Regions from separate parts of the Homo sapiens genome. Here all the other regions are linked to region 6. Evidence: promoter capture Hi-C in 16 types of primary human blood cells and fetal thymus (Javierre and others, 2016). All regions are on one chromosome and are shown on one strand. The core of a region is centred on a gene start or on the middle of the fragment in contact, and the rest is flanking DNA. Distances in the headings are between cores, read along the strand shown. Region 1 overlaps LINC01252 (long intergenic non-protein coding RNA 1252). Region 2 overlaps EMP1 (epithelial membrane protein 1). Region 3 overlaps LOC124902877 (a long non-coding RNA gene). Region 4 has its middle 46 kb from the start of LINC01252. Region 5 has its middle 28 kb from the start of LINC01252. Region 6 holds the start of MANSC1 (MANSC domain containing 1). Region 7 overlaps ETV6 (ETS variant transcription factor 6).

Evidence for each region. The method cuts DNA at HindIII sites, captures the fragments that hold promoters and counts their contacts. A CHiCAGO score of 5 or more calls a contact.
Region 1: a contact is called between a fragment that was not itself captured here and the fragment with the promoter of MANSC1 in region 6, in 8 of 17 cell types (activated CD4 T cells, M1 macrophages, M2 macrophages and 5 more). The highest score is 8.4, in activated CD4 T cells.
Region 2: a fragment that was not itself captured here is called in contact with the fragment with the promoter of MANSC1 in region 6 in 1 of 17 cell types (total B cells); the score reaches 5.5 in total B cells.
Region 3: a contact is called between a fragment that was not itself captured here and the fragment with the promoter of MANSC1 in region 6, in 5 of 17 cell types (non-activated CD4 T cells, fetal thymus, activated CD4 T cells and 2 more). The highest score is 8.5, in non-activated CD4 T cells.
Region 4: a fragment that was not itself captured here is called in contact with the fragment with the promoter of MANSC1 in region 6 in 2 of 17 cell types (activated CD4 T cells and M1 macrophages); the score reaches 5.3 in activated CD4 T cells.
Region 5: a contact is called between a fragment that was not itself captured here and the fragment with the promoter of MANSC1 in region 6, in 10 of 17 cell types (activated CD4 T cells, total CD4 T cells, M2 macrophages and 7 more). The highest score is 11.1, in activated CD4 T cells.
Region 7: a contact is called between a fragment that was not itself captured here and the fragment with the promoter of MANSC1 in region 6, in 1 of 17 cell types (neutrophils). The highest score is 5.3, in neutrophils.

What each region holds. Positions count from the first base shown.
Region 1 is chr12:11,558,040-11,561,150 of GRCh38, forward strand. It overlaps LINC01252 (long intergenic non-protein coding RNA 1252), which reads left to right. Exons shown (of 8, transcript NR_033890.1): 7 at 1,252-1,343. Among named protein-coding and RNA genes, the nearest start is that of LINC01252, 12 kb to the left of the region's middle. The HindIII fragment of the contact is 5,915 bases long and covers 1-3,111 here.
Region 2 is chr12:13,209,749-13,213,208 of GRCh38, forward strand. It overlaps EMP1 (epithelial membrane protein 1), which reads left to right. Exons shown (of 5, transcript NM_001423.3): 2 at 1,721-1,840. The coding sequence starts at 1,763. Among named protein-coding and RNA genes, the nearest start is that of EMP1, 15 kb to the left of the region's middle. The HindIII fragment of the contact is 1,489 bases long and covers 768-2,256 here.
Region 3 is chr12:11,539,161-11,542,239 of GRCh38, forward strand. It overlaps LOC124902877 (a long non-coding RNA gene), which reads right to left. Exons shown (of 3, transcript XR_007063210.1): 3 at 2,234-2,366. Among named protein-coding and RNA genes, the nearest start is that of LINC01252, 7.3 kb to the right of the region's middle. The HindIII fragment of the contact is 1,720 bases long and covers 776-2,495 here.
Region 4 is chr12:11,592,864-11,595,959 of GRCh38, forward strand. No RefSeq gene overlaps it. Among named protein-coding and RNA genes, the nearest start is that of LINC01252, 46 kb to the left of the region's middle. The HindIII fragment of the contact is 2,108 bases long and covers 197-2,304 here.
Region 5 is chr12:11,574,562-11,577,769 of GRCh38, forward strand. No RefSeq gene overlaps it. Among named protein-coding and RNA genes, the nearest start is that of LINC01252, 28 kb to the left of the region's middle. The HindIII fragment of the contact is 1,540 bases long and covers 645-2,184 here.
Region 6 is chr12:12,348,705-12,351,933 of GRCh38, forward strand. It overlaps MANSC1 (MANSC domain containing 1), which reads right to left and starts at 1,538. Exons shown (of 4, transcript NM_018050.4): 1 at 1,374-1,538. RefSeq lists a silencer at 1,539-1,848. The HindIII fragment of the contact is 5,175 bases long and covers 644-3,229 here.
Region 7 is chr12:11,662,777-11,665,872 of GRCh38, forward strand. The region is part of intron 1 of ETV6 (ETS variant transcription factor 6); the gene reads left to right. Among named protein-coding and RNA genes, the nearest start is that of ETV6, 15 kb to the left of the region's middle. The HindIII fragment of the contact is 743 bases long and covers 1,173-1,915 here.

The DNA.
Region 1 (3,111 bases), core at 330-2,829, 790 kb before region 6:
TCTGCAGTCCCCACCATCCTGGTTGATATTTTTTTGATTGTATACATTAGCGTTCCCTCTTTGTGATGTACAGTTCTATGGATTTTGACAAATGCAGAGCCATTTATCCACAACTCAGTATCATACAGAATTGTTCCTACCCCCCACCCCCTCCCCACCTCTGCCTTTTGGAGACAGAATCTTTCTCTGCCACCCAGGTCGGAATGCAGTGGTGCGATCATAGCTCACTGCAGTCTCAAACTCCTGGGCTCAAGCAATACTTTTACCTCAACCTCCTGAGTAACTGGGACTACAGGTATGTGCACACATGCCCAGCTAATTTTTTTACTTTTTGTAAACATGGGATCTTGCTATTTTTCCCAGGCTGGTCTTGAACTCCTGGCTCAAGCGATCCTCCCACCTCGGCCTCCCAAAGTGCTGGGATTATAGGTGTGTGCCACCACACCCAGCCCAGAACAGTTCTGTCACCCTAAAAATTCCCCCCATGAATTATCTCTGCAGTTAATGTACAGTTAATCTACCCTCTTCCTACTGCCACCAACCCCTGGCATCTGTTTTCCATCCCCATAGTGTAGCTGCTTCTAAAATGTCATATGAATGGATTTATACAATGTGTGCACCCTTTGGAGTCTGGCTTCCTTCAATTAGCAAAATTCACGTAAGACTGACCCACATCATTGTGTGAATCAAGAGTTTATTCTTTTTTTCACAGCAGAATAGTACTCCATTATATGAATGTACCATGGCCAGGAATTGTGGCTCATGCCTGTAATTCCAACTGTTTGGGAGGCCAAGGTGGGAGGATCGCTTGAGCCCAGGAGCTTGAGACCAGCCTGGGCAACATAGGAGACCCCGTCTCCATGAAAAAAAAAAAAAAAATTAAAAAAAACATTAGCCAAGCATGGTGGTGCATACCTGTAGTCCCAGCTACTCTGAAGGCTGAGATGGAAGGATCGCTTGAGCCCAGGAGTTTGAAGCTGCAGTGAGCTATGAACATGCCACTACCCTCCAGCCTGGGCAAGAAAGTGAGACCCTATCTCAAAACAAAGCAAAACAAAAATTACCACAATTTTTTTATCCACTCACCTGTGGAAAGACATTTTGGTTGCTTCTAGATTTTGGAGATTATGAATAAAGTTGCTATAAACATTTGCATACAGGTTTTTGTGTGAACGTGAGCTTTCAGTTTACTTAGGTAAAGATCTAGGAATATGATTGTTGGGAAGTTTTGTGTTTTTGTCTTTCCTACAGTGGCAGAAGTGTCAGGACAGTCTGCACGGGCAAGAATGATACCTAAATCACTACTCAGGCACAGGAGAGAGCAGGACTGGCATGGCTGGCAGGTATGGACCTCCATGAACCCCATTAAACAGGAAGGGGCAATAAGCAACCTTCTGGTTTAAGAGTCACAAAGTTAATCTTCCAGGTGAGGGTCACCTTGCTAAAGATAATACATAAACAAAGTCACATGTCTTGAATCACAGTTACCACTCTGGAGGAAACATAGCAATTTAACATAACATTGCCAACATTGCCTATTCTGCTTCCCTTTCTAGGCACCTGATTAGTGGAGGTGGCAGAGCAGGAATCTGATTCAGAGTTTAGTTTGCTCTAATAATTTAAATAATATTTTAGAAATTTCCCAGTCATAATGTAGCCTTGGGCAAAGGGGTGAGAAGCCTCTAGTCTTATGATGGTCCTTGACCTATGCTGGTTGGCATCAGCTTCTCTCTAGAGTGATGAGCCTTGCTCACTTGGTCACCAGTCCTCTGTAAGGATCTGATGCTGAGATCTGTGGCTGGTGAGCTTGTGATCTGTTCTTTTACAGATGAGGAAACTGCAGCCTAGAGAGTTTGAGTGACTTGCTTAACATTTCTCTGAGGAAATTTAACAGTACTCAAGGTCTCTCCTAAGGAAAATAGTAGTTGAGTGTGGGAGAAGGTGGAAATAACGTGTTTCCATGAGATAAGCAAGAAGAGCAAAGACTAGTTGGAGAAGATGGATAATTGATTGAATATCATAGAGAGTCCTGGAAAGAATGGTAAATGTCAACCAATTCAAATAGTTTTAACAGATGAAGAAACAAGACCAGAGAGGTTACATGCCTTATCCAGGGTCACACAGATAGTCAATGTCAGAGAGAGAACTTAGACTCCTGGTTTCTCACTCGTAGCGCTTAACTTTTCTCATTTCTCACTGTAAAAACATCTCAAATAGTCTGCCCTTTATTTAAAAAGAGATGAAGTGAGCATCTGTAGAAGCCCAGAAGGTTTTAGAACATAAAGCAGATAGAAGATCAATTTCCTCTCTGACAATGATTCCTTGCAAAGAGTTGGGATTATTTTGGTTCAATTAAAATTACTATGCTCCTTTTATGAGAAATATATTAAGAAAGGAGATAAATTGGTACCACATGAGTAAAAAAAAAATTGGTGCTTTTCCTCCATCTGTTCATTCTTTTGTGGGAAGACACAAACACCCGGTTCCTACTGACTGATAATCATGAAAAGTGCTAAATAAGAAGTATAAAAGGGATTGAGAATTTAAGGAAAAGAGAATTTAAGAATATTTTGCAGGCATTAGATCCTTGTTAAAAATCTATATTCTTGACTTTAAAAGGACTTTACTAGTTGGAAATGATGAAAATCATTGAAAAGGATTCTAATTAAAGATACGTCTGTCTTACAGAAGATTTTAAAATAGATTAGCTTAATTATGGCCAAATGTATTTATTTCTACCCTTTAATATTGATACTGTGGTTTTTGTTTAATGTCTGTACACAGCTTTTACGTTGTATAGTCTATTTATATCCTATAGATCTACCTCTATGGTTTTCTTTCTTTTTTTGGTGGGGGGAGAGTATCCTCCTTTGTCACCCAAGCTGGAATGCAGTGGCTCAATCATTACCCACTGTAACCTCAAACTCCTGGGCTCAAGTGATCCTCCCACCTCAGCCTCCTGAGTAGCTGTGACTACAGGTGTGCATCACTATACACTCAGCTAGGTTTTTAAATGTTTCGTAGAGACAGAGTCCAGCTATGTTGCCCAGCCTGGTCTCAAACTGCTGGCCTCAAGCAATCCTCTCGCCTTGGCCTCCCAAAGTGCTGGGA
Region 2 (3,460 bases), core at 262-2,761, 860 kb after region 6:
AATCTCTTTTTACTGTGCATTTAAGTCAAGCAGAAAATTGGGGAGGTGTGCTAGAACCTGAGAAAAGCAAAAATGAATTTGAATGTGTGGGGGGATTACTAATAGCAGACATGAAAGCTCCAACCTCTCCCCTGAAGAGGCAGGATAAACGTCATAATTTTTGCATTCACAGTTAAGTTGGACACATTCCTAAAAAACAGCCTGGGTTGGAAGGAAGTGGCCAGATTGGGAAGGGGCTGTTGGAGACGGTCAGGGAGAATGGTGGAAGCCATTGTCTGCCTCTCATTCCTTGCTTGCAGAGAGCAAGGCACCCTGATGTATATTAGATCACTCTAGATTTTTGGTTGCCTGATAAAGACAGTGAGAGGAGATAAAAGGCATGTGAAGTGTTGGAATTATAGTATCAGTGCTCTCTAATAAATACCTGATGTGGCATGAAAGTGCCTCAAGCACATTCAAAGCATCAATTAAATTAGGTGGAGTGAGAGAGGGCAGTGGAACAATTGCAGGATGCGCCTGGCCATCTCCTCCCTTGGTTGGGGCATCCACACATCCATTCTGTCTAGGGTGTGAATAACCTCAAGCCCTTTCCTTTTGATGTCCCTCTGAGCCTGCACTGCTTTGTGACAGTCTTAGGCATGACAAAGCTCTCCTTCTGTAGCTGACATAAATCAGAATAGCCTCCCCCATGTGTATCCTTCACACTTCCTTTATTTCCTAGGCTTTATGATCAATGGGCTCCCTTCTCTGCTGTGATTATGGCTGAAAGCTTTTGTTTATCCATGCACATTCTTAATCGATATTAGTTCCCAATCCTCCCACCCTGTGATTTATGCATTTGCCTGTCTTCTGTATTGAGTCCTGAAGGATTGGAATTTGTGTAAATGTCATGTACAAGGAGAAGGCACATTTGGTGCTATCTCAAGTTGCATTACTTTTAAAGCCCCCAGAACCATCACATTGAGCTGTGGAAAATATGACTCTCTGCCCAGACCAATGGCAGGCTTCCTGCCATGAGGCACACAGAGCCCAAAGGCTCAGGTGTAGTAATACTAGTCTGAAATGCTCAGTCACAGGGTGACCAGACCATTAAACTGTAATTAGGTTGTTATAATTATTGAAAACCAAACAGCATTATAATAATAGAATTGTGCCTCTCACATTTTATATCTCGCCCAGGATCATATTAGTAGCCTATTCAGTATATGGGCATTGAGTAATAGCTGCTATTCTTCAGAAGGCATTTACTTCTATTAAAAGTGCTGGGTGAGCAATTTGATGAAAGCATGGACATTTTCCTAGTGGAAAATGGACATTTATATGACATTGTTCAGAGACCTGGAAATTATAAAGGCCTACTTCTTTGAAAATCAAAGTCCTATTTTTAACCTCTAAAACACAAACAAAATAAAATACGAACAGTTATCATAAAATGTTCTTGTTCCTTTTTTGAAATAGAATGTATTAGAGAAATGAATATGTAAATACCCAAGAAGAAACCAAATTCTGTTTCCATGTAGGTATGTATAACTGGATGAATAGGCACTTAGGCAAATCAGAACTAGGTTACAGGGGTGTTTTCAGGAATTTATGATTAGATTGTGATGGTTTTTAGTGCAGCTCTTCCTCATGTTAGCAGATAGCCCACACGTGTGGGAAAGCTGAGTCGTCTTATTGAATCTGACAGTAACCGTTTTTGTCCCTTTCTTTTTCTTTTCAGAACTCTCTTTGCTCACAAGTTACCAAAAAAAAAAGAGCCAACATGTTGGTATTGCTGGCTGGTATCTTTGTGGTCCACATCGCTACTGTTATTATGCTATTTGTTAGCACCATTGCCAATGTGAGTAATGTTCTTTTGTTCATTCATTCATTGAGAAATCATTCGAATATTTACATCAAGTGCACAAAAGAAGTTTAAGCCACAGCCCTTGCCCTTCATGAACTTACAGCTCAGTTGTGGGAAAACAAAATAAACACACGCTTGCCCTTCAAACAATTAAATAACAGGAGGATAAAAGTGAATGTCCACAGGAGTAATCCTGCCAGAGCTGTAGGTGGTTAAGGGCTGGAGGATCTAGTGCAGCTTCTTCGGTCTCTAGAAGAGCCTTCCCAGCAGCAGGGGTGAGTGGAGCTTGAGGTGAACCTGGAGGAGTGGTAGATGGCTGAGGTTTCTCTTAGTGAAAGAGGGAAGGTGGAAGGATCATAGGGATGCATTCAGGTGGGAGTGCTAGCAAAGGAGCATATGTAGGAAGGACAAGCTTTGGTCAGAGGATAAGGAGGACACACACCTATGTGGCTGGAGCCGAACTTCCCCTCCTTCTGAGAAGCTTGATTAGAAGGATAGATGGGAAGAAGAGGATGCCAGACTGACAAATTCAAATTTTGAGCAAAGAGTAGCATGTGAAAGTGGAGTTTTGCAAGATTAACCCAGTGCCACTGAATTAACTAACTCAGACAAAACGAGAAAAAAAAAATGGAGGTAGTGTCTTTTCTCTCTGAACCCTGGGCTACTCTGACCTCTAGTGGTGGCTTACAGCGCCCAATTTGCTTTTACTTGTGCTTTTCTCAGAAAAAAGCCAGCTCCTTGGACCTAAAAACCAAGGCCACCAATCACTAGGCAGGCAAACCATGGTTTCAGAATCTGTTTAGGTCCCTATCACAGTTAAAGTATAAGTGAGTTTTAAAGTTCAGATAGAAGAGCTTTGCAAACATTAGTGGGTGTGATCATAAGCAAGGCTAATTAAGAATAACTGTGATAAGACAACCCCCGCCCACGTGACCTCCTTGTTTTGTAATTTAGCCATTCTATATGTCAACTCCTATATCTATCCAGATAAATCTGATAAGCTTCTTCAAAGTGTATTAATGAGCGCCAAAGCGCTGCGTATCTGTGAATTACCAGCCCCTAATATAAGGCTAGGCACACAGTTGTTTATTGAATGAAGAGCAGGGATTGGCGTAGGTGATGCATGTTCCCGGCCCCACCTTTCCAGTGTGTGCATTTGTGTGTGTGTAGACAGGACACTGCACTTGTTTTCTCTTCCAGAAGGATAATTCCTTTTCTTGGGCCAGGCAGGAAGGGATGGCGGCACCATGATCAGTCTGGGGGAATCCATTCAGGTCACCCTTCAGCTTTTAGTAGCCCCTACAGGAAAGCACTTGCTGTAGTATTTTACTATCAAATTACTTTGCATGTTGTGACAGTCAAGTTTGATCCTTCTGTTTAGATGAAAGTGGCTTATTAACCACTAGATTCATTGTTATTTTCCCAGTAGGTCTTATGTTTCTTAATTGTTTCCAGTTGGACATTTCACTTTTTTCCTGGTTAACCAGGGACTTAAATGAAACAATCTTGTTAGAGTATATGAACTGCACATACCTAAGCCAGTTTCCTCATCCTGGACTTCTGTTTCTCAGAACCTTAGAATTTTAAACCACTGTGGTTGAGTTACTTCCATTT
Region 3 (3,079 bases), core at 386-2,885, 810 kb before region 6:
CTCCCCTCCACTCGGCCCCTGGAAACCACCAATCTGCTTTCTGTTTCCATAGATTTACCTATTCTGGATATTTCATATAAATTGAATTACATAATATGTGACCTGTGTCTGGCTTCTTTCACTTCACATAATGCTTTTGCGGTTTAACCACATGGTGCCATGCATCAGTTCTGCATTCCTTTTTCTGGCTGCGTAATACTCCATTGTTTGTACATACCACAATTTGTTTATCCATTTATCCATCTATGGACACAATACATTTCAAGGACACTTGAAATATATTAACTCATTGAATTCTCTCCACAGAGACAGATGCAGTATTTTCCATAAATTTATAAAGTAGAAACTGAGGCACAAGTCACATGCCTAAGATCACATAGCTATTAAGCAGAATAAGGACTCCAGCCCAGATAGCCCAGTACCAAAGGTCTTCCTGGTAACCACTACTCTCTACTATCTCACAGAGAACAACCCCAAATAGCACAACATGGGGGCTAAGCTGTCTAGTGGAGCTTCAAATGCTGTGTGTTTCAGAGAATGGGGAGGTCCCTGGGCTGTCACGGAAGCTTCCTGGAGAAGCAGGATCATGTAAAATCTAACTTGGGGCAGGTCAGGGTGATGTGAGTGACCAACTCACTCAGAACACAGCCATTCATGGGTGTTCAGTAAAACTGGCTCTAGAACCAGCGATGACTTCAGCTCAAGGATCCCACAAGGGAAAGTGCTTGTCTTTCCCTGCACAGCATACAGCTCTTTCGGCAGAGTTCTGGACCCAAGCTTCTTTCAAATACGTTACAAACAGCAAAAGAAGCTGGCTGTTCCTTCTGTCTGTCTGCATCTGTCTAATGGTTTAGAGAGTGGGACATTTCCATCCTCCTTTCTCCGAGCATCCTTGAAAGCCTTCCCAAAAAGCAATGCACTTTGGAGAAATGTAATGCTGGAGAGGAAAGTGGTGTTCAGGAGAGGGGAGTCTGTTCCAGGAACTGGTACACAAGAGCTAGAGGTTGGGTGGGGTAGGGAACTTCTCAAACTAAGTTCTCGGCCTTGTTTCCAGTGTTCTTCCTGTAGATCAGGGCTGAGGACACCCTGCTGCATGCTCTTCATCCCTTCACCAGAATTCCTAAAGTCCATACTCATGGATCCTGGGAAATCAAGAAGGCCAGGGGATGCTGGCAAGCCTAGGCAAGACTGCCCGGGGCCAACCCTGCAGCCTTCATTCCCCAGGCCCACTCAGCCCAGCTGGCCAGCAAAGGCAGTCATGGCCTCCATGTCCACACATGAGAATGACCTGCAGCTGTTCTTTGTCTAGGCTGGGGTCAAGGATTCCCACTGCAGCTTGAGGGGTGAGGATAAAAGTCTACAATCCAGCTCCTAGGAAATCTTTAAAATTTAGGTCTGGGATGAGCCTGTCGGTAGTACATTAGGTAGAGAACTTTTATGAAGTTAAGGGTAAACTGGCTGGGCTGGGTCTAGAACTGGGAATGGTGCCTAGCAGCACATTTTTGAGAACATGCAGCCAGGTTTGGTATGTCATGGAGTGTGTGTGTGTGCACGCACGTGAGTGTGTGAGTGTGTGTGTGTGAGAGTGTGTGTGTGAGAGAGAGTGTATGTGAGAGATTGCATGTGTCATGTGTGAGTGTGTGATGTGTATGAGTGTGTGTGGGAGTGTGTGTGCATGTGTGAGTGTTGAATGAGTGTGTGAGTGTGAGTGTGAGTGTGAGCGTGTGAGCATGTGTGAGTGTGTGTGAGTGTGTGAGTGTGTGCATGTGTTGAATGTGTGTGTGAGTGTGTGTGAGTGAGTGAGTGTGAGAGTGTGTGTGAGAGAGAGAGTGTGTGCGTGTGTCTTTGGATACACAGACATCCTGGAGCATATGCACATTTCCTTTCTCGTTCAAATAAACCCTACAGATAACAAAGCGCTTTAACATCCGGTCTCTGCAGCCTTCCAGAGGAGGCAAGGCAAGCACTATTAAGCCCACTACAAACAAATCAGCTGAAGCCCCCCTCAGTGTCTTGCCCAGGGTCACAGGAAGAATGAGTGGCAGAGCCCCGAGCCTGTGTGCTCCCTTCTGTGCCGGGCTGCTTCTCCTGGGCATGGCTGTGCCTTGTGCATGGGACATTTCTCCTTTGATGTGCCCTGGGTGCCTTAAGCAACTTAGATATTGCTCAGGTAGGGTGAGGGGAAAATGTATTTTCAGGTTGTATTATTCAAAACAAAATAATATAGACTAAATGACTTTGAAAACATATTTATTTCTTACAATACTGGAGGTTTGAAGTCCAAGTTCAAAGTGTCAGCTAGATTGGTTCCTGGTGAGGGCTCTCCTCCTGGTTTGCAGGCAGCCACTTTCTCTTTGCATCCTCACCTGGTGGAAGAGAGAGACAGTGTTCTCTTTTCTTACCAGATCCATCATGAGGGCCCCACCCCATGACTTCATGTAACCCTAATTACCTACCAAAGGCCCATCTCCAAATACCAAACACATTGGTTGTTAAGCTTCGACAAAGGAATTTGGGGAGGACACAAACATTCGTCTACAGCATGGGTGGAAACCCATTTCTTCCTCACCGTCTGTATGGATTGCACGCTGCAGCCATCGAGACAGTGGGCATGTTCTCCTTACAACTCGATCTGACTCCCCTAGAAGAGGGGGCAGGGAAGGAGGGCAAAGCTGGGAGAGATGAAGAATATTAAGAAGAGAATAGGGTAGCCAGATTTAGCAAATAAAAATATAAAATGCCTAGTTCTGAATTTAAAATATAAAATGCCTAATTCTGAATTTCAGATAAAGAACAAATAATTTTTTAGTGTAAGTATGTCCCAAACTAAGCATGGCAAAGGACATGTTTATGCTAAAAAATTATGTATTATATAATAATAAATTATTATTATTTTCTGCAAGTCACATTAACTGGGCATCCTGTATTTTTATCTGGCAACCCTAAAAGAGAAGGGCCAAAAACTGTTGAGAAAAGTCAGTGGATTCCAGGAGGGACTATTGCTGGATTTCTGGACTGATGCTCGCTTTATAATACTTAACTGTTTTTAGCCCCTTCCCTCCCTCTCTCCCTCCCTCCC
Region 4 (3,096 bases), core at 1-2,500, 760 kb before region 6:
GCAAGCACAGAGCAGAAAGCCCAGTGAAAAGCCATAGAAATAATCCAGGGTAGAGGTGGGGACCTGGACCAGGATGGGAGTGGTGTTCATGGGAAGTGGTTGGATTTGGTATGTTGTTTGCAGGTAAAACCAACAGGATTTGCTGACAAATTGGATGTGAGGTGTAAGAGAGAGGGAGGTATATAGATAGATTCCAAGCTTTTCAGCCTGAACAGCTGGAAGGGTCAATTGGCATTGACTGAAACAAAGGTGAGCAGGAATTGGCTTGAGTGGGATTAGCTTGAGAAGTCAAGGATCATTTTTCCACTTCCTTCTATTGTGGTAAGTGAGGGAGTCAGGATTTAATGAGCAAAGAAGGAGAAAGAATTTAGCCAATTGGAATGAAAATGGCATTCCAAGAGTAGGTGAGAACATAGATGCAAAATATGAGGGTGAATGATGGGCCCACCTAGTGAGTTTGCTGGAACGGCTTAGAGCAGATGGTTGAGTTGAGGAGTAGGGAGGAGAAGGCAGGAAGTTGAGGGAGCACAAGATGAAGACTTGTATCTTGTTGTTTTAAGATTCCATCACTGAGGCCACAGGAGCAGGCAGGAGGTAAAAAACAGGTGGTAGACGATATCCTGTTGGTTGTAGTCTTGAGATGTGTGAGTGAAGAGCAAGGTAAGAATTTCAACAAAGACAACAAAGGTAAAAAGAAAATATCAGTCTATGGCATATAGATGGGGAGAAATCTTAAGAAAAAAAGGCTGGATTTAGAATATATCATCCTCAGGCAGGGCGTGGAGACTCATGCCTGTAATCCCAGCACTTTGGGAGGCCAAGGCAGGTGGATCACCTGAGGTCAGGAGCTCGAGTCCAGCCTGACCAACATGGTGAAACCCCATCTCTACTAAAAATACAAAAAGTAGCCAGACATGGTGGCGGGTGCCTGTATTCTCAGCTACTCAGGAGGCAGGAGACTCACTAGAACCCAGGAGGCGGAGGTTGCAGTGAGCTGAGATCATGCCATTGCACTCCAGCCTGGGGAACAGGGTGAGAATCCGTCTAAAAAAGAAAAGAAAAAGAAAAAGAATATATCATTCTCATGGCAGGAAGAGTAAAATATATTTTTAGGTGGCCTTCCATTTGACTTACTCTCCGTCCAATCTATTAACTTCTGTGAGTTCCACCTCCAAATATTTCTTGGATCTGCCCACTTCTATTGGTTTCCACTGCTAATAATCTGTTCTAGGTTACTAAGATCTCTTCTCTTTACTATTGCAACTGCTTCCTAAATGTCCCTCCACTTCTGCTCTTGTCTTCTTCTAATTTATTTCCCATATAGGTATAAGAAAGAATATATTAAAATGTCTATCAAACATTTTCAGATATCTGGGATATTCTTTTTAAAGTTCAATGATTCCCCATTTCACTTAGAATAAATTATAATGATAACAGCACACTTGTGGCACATACTGTGTGTCAGGCACTATAGTAACAGCATTACACAGATTGATGTAAGTAATATTTAATTCTATGAAGCAGGTGCTGTTATCATAATTTATATCTATCAAATGAGGAAACTGAGGCACTGGGAGCTGATTCATTCAGGAGGTCTACCTTAACTTGGATTTCCCAGAAAACAGAACCCCACTAAATACATATGTGCTGCTCCCCTCTTGGAGATTGCAATCTCAGAAAAGAGGAGTGAGTCAGGCAAAGAAGGACCACCGTTTACAAGAAAAGGCCACAGCATGGCATGAAGCACAACTGATTGCTTGGTCTTGCAACACCATTGCTATCCTGGTCACTCCAACTAGGTAGAGGAGAAGAATTTATTCATCGGCATCTCTCACTCTTTGGTCAGAGGTTTACCCCGTGGGGCATTAGCTCCCTTGCACTTGTGCCCAAAGGCAGATCTTTGCCCCAACAGGAATGCACCTAGGCAAAAGATGACAAGTGTGACAGGACACAAGGCAAGGGATTACCAGGTTGGTCCACACAAAGCCCACTGGAACCCAGGTAGAGCTGCCTGTCACACTGACCACTGGAGCAGAGCAAGTAGCTAAAGACCCTCAGGACTCATGAGGCCAGAGAACCTGAAGTAGTGCACAACAAGTGGCTGACGCATATAGGCAGTGAAGAATCAAGCTGGGGTAAAAACTCTGGCAGCCGGGCCTCAAAGCCCACACATTTAAAATTTCTCTGATATGCTGCCTTGCAGAATAAGGCCTGAACCATTTACCATGCCCTACAATGTCCTGCATGATCGGGCCCCTACCATCTGTCCAACTCCATCTTGAACCTTCTTTTTCTCACTCACAAAGCTTCAGGAACTTGTTCGTTCAGTTCCTAAACTCCGCTCCATCCTTTCCTGCCACAGGACCTTAATGCATGAGTCCTCTGTGTGGATGCTTTTTCTTCCTCTTTTGCATGGCAAACACTTTCTTATCTTTTAGTCACAGTTTAAGTGTTGCCTTCTCAGAGAGAACTTCCTGACCACTCTGTAAAAGAGGACTTCCCCACTTGTAATTCTTCTCTTCCACTCCATGTGTGTTTCTTTCACAATACTGATCACAGCTTGAAGTAATTTTATTAATTTCTTTGATAACTTCTTTTTTGTTTCTGTCTCCAAGAGAATGGAAGCCTATGGAGGCAAGGACAATGTCTATCTTCCTCACCATTATAGCCTCAGCATGGAGCTCAGTGCCTGACCCAAGGAGATGCTCAATGAATAGTTGTAAGATGAATGAATGAAGTGTTCTTATATGAGAAATAGATTTTTTTTTTTTTGAGACGGAGTCTCGCTCTGTTGCCCAGGCTGGAGTGCAATGGTGCAATCTCGGCTCACTGCAACCTCCACCTTCCTGGTTCAAACAATTCTCCTGCCTCAGCCTCCTGAGTAGCTGGAACTACAGGCACTGGCCATCACGTCCGGCCAAGTTTTGTATTTTTAGTAGGGACGGGGTTTCACCATGTTGGCCAGGCTGGTCTTAAACTCCTGACCTCAGGTGATCCACCCGCCTCGGTCTCCCAAAGTGCTGGGATTACAGGGGTGAACCACCGCGCAAATTTTAAAGTGGTATTGTCCATATCAGTGTTTGAGGTAGAAACACT
Region 5 (3,208 bases), core at 165-2,664, 770 kb before region 6:
TATATGATCCATCTGTTATTTTAATCAAAATTATACATGCACAGAGGTACCTGGTGACACCAATTCTTTTGCCATAATCTCTTTTTCACATTGTGTAACTTGGTCCTGAATTAGAGATTTCTCTCTCTTTCACAAGCATAATGTCAGATTCTATAGTTTTCAAGAAACTTCAGAATGTCTTTGTGAGAACAGTGAGAGAGTTTGTTCTCATTCTAGCCAAGAAAAAAAAAGATACTAAATATCAACACTAAAACTGAAAACACAGCACCAAGCAATTTAGAGAATTTGATTAATTTTGTACATTAAACTATGCTGCTCTATTAGTTCTTCCTTACCACTCTTTTCATGAATTATATTGCAATCCTATATTCTATTATTGGCCATCTGGATGAAATTATAAATTATAATAAAAAGAATCCTTGATGAAGGGTCATGCACATTTTTATTTCTGTATCTACTTTAAATGTGTTAATACTATAGAGTTGCAGAAATTTGAAGTAATTTTAAATTGCTCTTATGGACAAAACCCTAAGCCTCCACTACTTTGCAATGATGGAAAAGGCCACAGAGCACTTTGAAAAATCATACTTTTATCCCCATTATCTCAGCCAAATGTGAACTGTGGCAAACATCATGTACCTGCAAGCTTCTCTCCACCTATAAGGCCCCTGTCTTCTTCACATGCTACCCTTTCTACCTGGGTGTGAGCATCAATGGTCTGGAGTCATAACTTCTGGGAGCAGGTCTGCTTTTGATCAACTATACCACTCACAAGATTTTATGTGCTTGGTTCTCTTCAACTATGCAAATAGTAGATCAACTAACAACTGTTCCAGCCATAAAGATGAAATCCTCTTCATTCTTACATTCTCTTATAATTGACAAAGTATTGAAATACTTAGTGATGCTCTACTGCTACTACAATAGCTAGATAGACCTTTTGTTCCATCATTAGTTGATTCCCCTCCATTCTGGGCCTGTTTTCATTAAGTTTTCCTTATATAATATGAGGAAACTGTGAAGCATGATTTCTCAATCTCATTATCAGCACTCTTGACATCTGGGGCTGTAAAATTCTTTGTTATGTAGGGCTGCCCTGTGCATCATAGCATCTCTGATCTCTGCCCACTAGATGCCAGTACCACTCCCCCAACTTCTAGTGTGACAACCAAAAATGTCTCCAGACATTGCCAAATGTCCCCAGGGAGTGAGGGGTAAAATTACCCTCAAACCCCAAATAAAAACCACTGTTGTAAAGAAAACTTAAATGTTATAATGTATATAAAGGGGACTCACAAACTATGCAGTTTAGGAATTATTATATTTTTAATGTTTTTTGTCAATGTGTTGTAGAAGAATATGAGATGAAATATAGGCAAAGAGTGAAAGGTGGTCCTTAGAGTGTATTCCAGTTTACTGTCTGTATGGAAGTTGCCTTATGAGAAAAGGCAGACAATCTCTAAGGATGCCTTAAAAGAGGTTTCTGTAGCTAGTCATGTAACAGTTAAGTTGGCCATGGTACCCACATCATGATTACCTTACAGCTTATTCCTTGGGCAGGGGACTAGCCCCTTTGCTGCTTGCTATAAGAGGTGCTGAGCCTTTAACCCTAGGTTCCCCGCATGTGGCACAACCCACTGTGTGAGTAGCTGCCCATTACCACCCCATGGGACTTTGGGACAGGAGAACCAGAATTACCATGCTGATGTTCCCACTGTGTGCTGTGCTGTCTTGCTTGAGTCTCTTTGTCTATTTTCACACCTCCAAAGTGGCAGCAAGCCAACCTGGTTACTGGCTTAGTCATCTCCTTGGCCTTCTTGTTACTCTTCACCATTCTCTATGAGGGAGGAGTTTCCCCTGATACTGGGTTAAGTTACTTCACTTCCCTTTGTCTTTGTTTCCACATTTTAAAATGGGGATAATAATGATAGTACTTAAATCTTAGTGTTGTTGTGAGGATCATTCAAGCTAATGTAATAGCCTGATAGGTAATTATGTCCAAACTAATGCCATGTTGCTTAGTTCTATTTTCTCCTATATGTCCCTGTGTTAGTCTGTTCCCACATTACTGTAAAGAAATACCTGAGACAGGGCAACTTATAAAGAAAAGAGGTTTAATTGGCTCATGGGTTTGCAGACTGTACAGGAAGCATAGCAGCTTCTGGTTCTGGGGAGGCCTCAGGAAGCTTCCAATCATAGTGGAAGGCAAAAGGGAGTAGGAGTCTCACATGGCAGGAGCAGGAGCAAGAGAGAGTAAGATGGGAGGTTTTACACTTAAATGATCTGATCTCATGAGAACTCACTCACTCACTATTGTGAGGACAGTACTAAGAGGGATGGTGCTACACCATTCGTGAGAAATCCACCTCCACAATCCTATCACTTCCCACCAGTCCCACCTCCAACATTGGGGATTACAATTTGATATGAGATTTGGGTGGGGACAAATATCCAAACTATATCAGTTCCTACCTTCTTAGATTGCCTACTAAACTCCAAATCCTACCTTTCTTTCACAGTGAAATTTACTTTTCTTTGTCATAGACTACATTTCCATTTCACAGTGCACATCATCTCACCATCTTTCTTGCTTTCTCTCTCCCTCAGTCTCCTCTACTCATTAACCTCCATCCTCCTTTGCCGGACAGATTCCTCCCTTTGTCTTTGGTGCAGTTGTTTGCAGACCAAATTTGTTGTAACACGCCCCTAGTATTTCAGTTTTTACTTCAAGGTGATTAAAAGATTTTCATCTAGTCAAGTCCCTCCTACCAATGAAATTCTTGTTAATAAAAGTTTCTTTATCACCTCACATAATTCATTGTTCAATGAATATTTTTGTTCCTATAGTGGGTTAATATTTTGATATTCAACTATGTGATTTTTCTTAATTCCTCTTACTTATCTTTTCTTTCCCCACCATTCAAGGAGTGTTAGGGTTTTAGAAATACAGATACAAAGATGATACAGAGAGAACAATTAAATCTTTAACCTGAAGCTCTTGAGAATAATTCTGTAAAGTCCATAGCAGAGAAAAAGGTCTTAAAAGTCATTGCTTTCCATTATTAGAGCCAGAGACTTAGAGAAACATGTTATTTAAATCCCCAAAGTCAGACTTTAAATATCCAAAGCCAGTCCCCCAGAGGGCCAAGTACATAATATTTATACTAAAACCACGGAAAGAAATATGTGATGTCCTAAGAACCATGTC
Region 6 (3,229 bases), core at 288-2,787:
AAAAGGTAAAACCAAAAAAAAAAAAAAACCCAGAAACAAACCAGTATATGGTAATAAAACACAAGTCTAATACTTTTCTTGCTGTTTGTCAAAATTCTGTATACAGTAAAATAGTAACATTTATTGCGTCTAAAATGCCAGTTTCTATGCTAAGCACTTTATATATATCATGTCATTTAATCTTTACAGATCCCATTATTATCCTCATTTTAGTTAAAACTTACAAAAAGTTGTGGGACATAATATGTGCTTCTTTATTAACCTATTAAGTAACAAGTGGTCATCTAATAACTGCCATAATTTTGACGTGGTATTGAGTATAGATAATATTTTGAAACGTGCAACAAGTCATGTGATATAAAGATATCGGCAATATTTACAGGGGGCAAATCATAGCTACTGCTAATACTACTGTGGCTTTTGCCTACATTCCATTTCAGAAGTCGGTGAAATAATAATTTTTTCCACTCAAGTTCACAGACATCCTGAATTCTATCCATGGATACCTTATCGTGGACTCCCCAGGTTAATAATTCTGGCCAAGGTACTTAATACGCTGCCATATTTTGCAAGCCTCTAGGGAATCAAGAGAAAACCAGGCCAATACTTTATTTTGAATGGATTCTAATGTAGCCTCTTTTCAAGCTTTTGCAAAGAAACCTGAACTATGTAAGGAGATGGGGCAGGAGTTGTTTTCAGTATGCAGCATTGAGAGAAGTGTTTAAGAGTTTTATATCATTAAAGAGGCTCAGCAATATTAGGTTAGCGACGTTTTCTAATCCATTATTATTTAGGCTTTAAGGGCCTGAAGTCGAGTTGAATCTTGTTGAAAGACGGGGTAAAAGGATACAGGCGGGTGAGAGAGGATGCCCCTGAGTTTTAACGTCTGCATACAAGAGTCGCTAAAACTTACTCGCACGTAATTAGTTCAAATATTGGAAATCGTCTTACAGCACACTATAATTTACCAAGATGCTTATAACTGTATACACACACACACTCTACAGAGAATTAGACAATTAGCAGTTTCAATAATGAATACAGAGTCAACGACAAGAAAACAGGGAACATTTTCTCTTCCTTTGAGGAAATGCATGTTGCCTACTGAGCTATTCTTCTGCCTCTCCTTCTGATGTCAACGCAGAGCCAGAGCCATTTATGGCAGGTGCCTTGAGCCCGCCTAGAGGTCCCCTTTGGAATACTGCAGCGACTCAAGGATCCTGGTCAGCCCTTATTGGCCCCAGCTGGTCCTTTGGATGCTCGGGTGTGGGTGAAGGAGCCTCGGCCCCTGGAAAGGAGGGGACCGACTCTCTCCGCAGGTAGCGACGTCGCCTGCGGCCGGTCGGGGGTGGGTATTGGGGAGACCCCTTTACCTGGCGTCGAGAGGACCCCGGCGCCCCTGCTGCCATCCAGGTGCGAGGACAGCTCTGTCGCGCCCGCGGGAAGGACCGGCGAATCCGCGCGGGGGTCTCGGCGAGGACCGCAGCGGATGCTCCGCAGCTCCCGCACCGGCCTGGCGGGTTTTGTGGTTAGCAAGTTCCTGCTTCCGTCGCAGCGACGGCAAGTTTGCCGCGGGGGAAGGGCACGTTCCTGCCCTGCAACCCGGAGCTGCTTCCCGGCAACATTAGCGCGTCCCTCCCCGCGGAGGCTCCGGGCTCCCGGCCCCAGCGCTGAGCCCCGCAGGGAGGTGGCTCCCCCCACCGCCCCGCGCTCCCCCCCAGCTCAGCCACACCGCTGACCCCGGGCTGGGCGCGCTGCGAGGGGGAGTGCGTGCCTCCCTGCTGGTGGCCCGAGGGTCTGCAGGTGAGCCTTGCCTCGCGGCCCGCGCAAGTTAAAATAAATGCACATGGGGAAAATGTCAAACAGTACAAAAATAGACACAGAGACAAGTCTACCCCTCACCCCCGTGCCCCAGTCTCCTAGTCTCCCTCCTCAGAGGCAACCACTGAGAGCAGTTTTTTGATGTTCAAGGGCTTATAGTGCATCCTATTGGGGGCATAGTTCTGAGAATCCTCTTTCCATAATTGGAGGATGGAGTCCTCAATTAAAGATGGCAATTCTTGAGTTAAATATTATCTGCAAGACAAACTTCAGGGAAGGTATTTGGCTTTCTGCGGGATTTATTGTTTGTAGATAGGATAATAATGGTGAAAATGCTGGTGTCTGTAACATATATTAAAACTGTATCCCTAACACTTAGCATAGTGCCTGGTACACAATAGGTGCTCAGTAAATATTTAACTAAAATATTTTTGTTGACTGAATGAATGGAAAAGAACTGCATAGGGCATAGGTTGTGGAAGTTTCTAAATTACTGCTGGCCCCATCCCCACCTCCATAAACACACACACAAATGCAACGTTACTAAACCATTGACACTTAGTTTGCCATATGGTCTAACCTTTGACAGTATCTTCACCTCTGTTTTGAAAGAGCTTGCAGACCTGAAGCGCTATGCAATTGCAAGTTAAGTCTAGGCCTGTACGGCCAACAGCTACACACCCTAGTCTTAACCAATAACTACAGGAGGATTAGGTTGACTGAGAATGCTTGTGAACAAAGGTCCATTGTGTGAAACTAACTCTACTTGTAACCAAAGGATGACTCTTGAATTACAATGTTGCTAAAGCTAGGTTTGAAAGAGTTACCAAAGAAAAGTAAACACCAGAGTAATTTCCCATTGCAGTGATTTTCCTGATGCAACAAGGGACTGATCTGCAAGTGTGTTTTATCTTTTATCATCTGATACACTTCAGGGTTCAGGGTGTAGAGCTATCACAGTTTTTGAATCTCTCTACATGGGGTAATCCATGCTAGTTACAAAGTAGACCTTTCCATTATTAGAAACTTCGTATTCGGTGCTTTAATACAATGAACCTGTTTCTTTTTTTGTTTTGTTTTGTGTTTTGTTTGTTTTTAGAGACGGAGTCTCGCTGTGTTGCCCAGGCTGGAGTGCAGTGGTGTGATCTCGGCTCACTGCAACCTCCACCTCCCGGGTTATAGCAATTCTTTTGCCTCAGACTCCTGAGTAGCTGGGACTACAGGCACATGCCGCCACGCCCAGCTAATTTTTTTCTATTTTAGTAGAGATGGGGTTTCACCGTGTTGCCCAGGCTGGTCTCGAACTCCTGAGCTCAGGCAATCCGCCCGCCTCGGCGTCCCAAAGTGCTAGGATTACAGGCGTGAGCCACTGTGCCCGGCCTGAACCTGTTTTCATTGAAGTGATATG
Region 7 (3,096 bases), core at 294-2,793, 690 kb before region 6:
ATAGATAATTGGAAAGAATTTTCTTCGCAGCCCTGGTCCCCAAATTGGTGTCTGTGATTCTTCCTAGGGTCTCATATTATGAGAGTGCACTCCCTTTAATCTTTTGGGACCTCAAGTGGGGTCTGTGTGGACAAGATTGTGCTTCTTTGAGAAACTTCTTGCTGCACACCAGCCAGGGTAAGGCAAGAGTTAGTCCTGTTGGCTGGGTGGTTCTTGGGCAGTTGAGCATGCTTAGCACTTGAGAGGTTTCTGTTATACCATTTGCCAAAAGGGACATCTCTCCGCTGGTCCTAGTGCCCCAGGGCACAAATGGCAGGCTTTAGGAGAAAATGCACAATTTCAGGTTCAGTCTCTATCTGCATTTGTGTGCATGAATGGACTAATAATTGCAGTGCGTTGAACGATTTCTGCATATTCCAACACCTAGAAAGTAGCTTCCTGGATTAGGGAACGGTTCCTAGGTACAGCTACCAAAGGCTCAAGCTTAAGCACCAACACTGGAGGTTAGAATTAGCACGCTCTAGGGAGGACAGCGAGAGGGCAGCTGACACAATGCCTTTATGGGCTATTTTTAGCTTTAGTCAGGCCTATCTGGAGTGGCTTGTGCTTTCTTGGGCACCGTCCTGCATTTATTCCAGGGTTTGTGCTTGTGACTCTGTTTGCATATATGCCACATGTATCGCATGCTCATGGGATGATAAATTGCAGAAATTATGGCATAATCTGTTTTCTAGCATATAGAGGAAAAGATTACACAAAATCCAGCCTTGTTGTGGCGAAGAAACCTAACATATAGATGTAAAATATATCTCCTTGGAGGCCTGGCTTTGTGATGGGCTATGAACGGATTGTTAAACAGCAATGTGAGGGGCTGTTAGCAAGCTGTTTCTAAGAGCATCTCCCTGGTCTGGTCTGAAAAGGTGATGTGTACATATTGTACATTTGAGATAGTTTGCCTGTGGTGTTTATATGTTGGTAGGTTGTGTGTGTGTGTGTATGTGTGTGTGTGTGTGTCTTGTCTGTCTTCAGTGGTGAACTGAAAAAATAAAGTGTTGTTTACGTGCTTCTATGTTAGTGTCTACATTCCAAACTGGGCAATAGTTTTCTTTAAGCTGGCTTAAGTGAAGAGGTGTTTGGTCAGCCACAGGGTATGAATCAACCAAACTTCAAAAAGCTTCAGTGTGTTTTTGATAACACTCTTAAGTATTTAATAGCTGCTTTAAGGATTTGTGCCTTAGTGTACTTGGATGAATAGGTAAATCACCTCCCCATCAGCAAACTAGCGTTTGGGTTCCCACGTTGGCAAAGCAGGGTTCCTGTTATGTGTCTGGTCATATTTGAACTTCTTTTCACATTCAGGTGACATAGTTGAACATCAGTCCGTGCCAGTTTCTGCTACTATTGGGTTTTTAATGGAAGAGAACTCTTTCTTGTTACTACGATGCCATGCTTCTGCTGTGTTAGCAGCTGCTGTATTGAAAAACAGGTGTCTCTTATAATCCTCTGACTGGATCAGTTTGCTAGCCTGGCAGAGTCTTATTGTTATTGTTTTTATTTATTTATTTTTGTCCCACATAAGTCAGAAACTGCCAAGAGATGTTGATGAGTGGGATTAGTATGAGAGGAGATGGCAGCTTTTCTTGGTGGAGGTTTCTGTTACAAGAATCTAAGAGTCTTATGAAGATAGGGCTAAATAAAACCAGGATACGAACCACAGGGGAGAACCGCCAAAAGAAGGGTAGTAAATGAATGGTTCTGTCAAGTCACCTCTCTGTCATTCTTCAAAGGCCAACTTAAAGCCAGCACTGCCACAAAAGCCATCCAGGACTAAGGTTAGCGAACGGTGACCCTTGTTTGGTCCACGATGCACTAACAGACTCTTCCCCTTGTTGCTTCTTACTGCTACTGGAATGGAAGCTTTGGGAGGGCAGGTGTGCCATCTTTTCCAGCCTGCCAGGCAGTCTGGTGCATACTCGTCTTTCTCCTCCATACCGGCTGTCACTGCCTTCCTTCTGGCCCCAGACCTTTCAGTTGTCTCCTCTCTGATCTTCCTTCCTCCATTTTGTCCCCACCCCCAACACAACTTGGAATGATTCTTTGCAGATAAAAATGTGATCTTGTTACTCTCTGTCTCACACCACAGTACCACAGTGTAGCATGAACCACAGCTTCTTGTCACCTGCAAGGCCCTTTACTGCCTACCTTTCTAGTATCATCTCCACATTATGTTCCAACCACATAATGAACTTTTTTCTCAGGAGGACATGGTCTCGCTCTGTGGCCAAGGCTAGAGTAATCTCAGCTCACTGCAACCACTGCCTTCTGGGCTCAGGTGATTCTCCCATCTCAGCCTCCCGAGTAGCTGACACCACAGGCACGTACCACCACACTAGGCTAATTTTTGTATTTTTAGTAGAGACAGGGTTTCACCAGGCTGGTCTCAAACTCCTGGGCTCAAGTGATCCGCCCAACTCGGCCTCCCAAAGTGCTGGGATTATAGGCATGAGCCACTATGCCCATCCCATGTAACAAACATTTATGCCTGGAATCTTCCCTCGATCTTCTTTCTGCCTGGCAGCCAATTTGTCATTGGAAGTCCATTTCTCAAGCCTCCCTGTTGCTGCTGGGCACAGTGTTCCCCCAGCTTATTGAACTTGCTTCTGTTATTGGCAACAATCCAGTTATCCTTGAATTATCATCCACACTAGACTGAAAGCCTGCTGAGGACAGGAGTCTGATGGGTTCATTTTTATATTTCCAGTGTCCAGCTCAAGGTCTGGCACAGAGGACAGCCAATGGCTATTAATTGAATAGAATTTCTTAATCAGTAGGTATTTATTAAGCTTCTGTTACGGACTTAATTGGTGCCAGGCTCTTTGATATGTAAGATAAAGACCTCACACAGTTGACATCCTGAGCAAATACTCTGTGAGGGTTGAGGAAAGAAGAAAGGTAGAGACCTGTGTTTTGAAACATATCAGGACTCCATGTCAGGGCGAACATACTGCCACCTCCCATACCTAAGGGGCTCCTGTGAGGCATAAGTACTGACATGTACACACAGGGCACTCACAAATGCTCTCCTTCTCAGTTGCC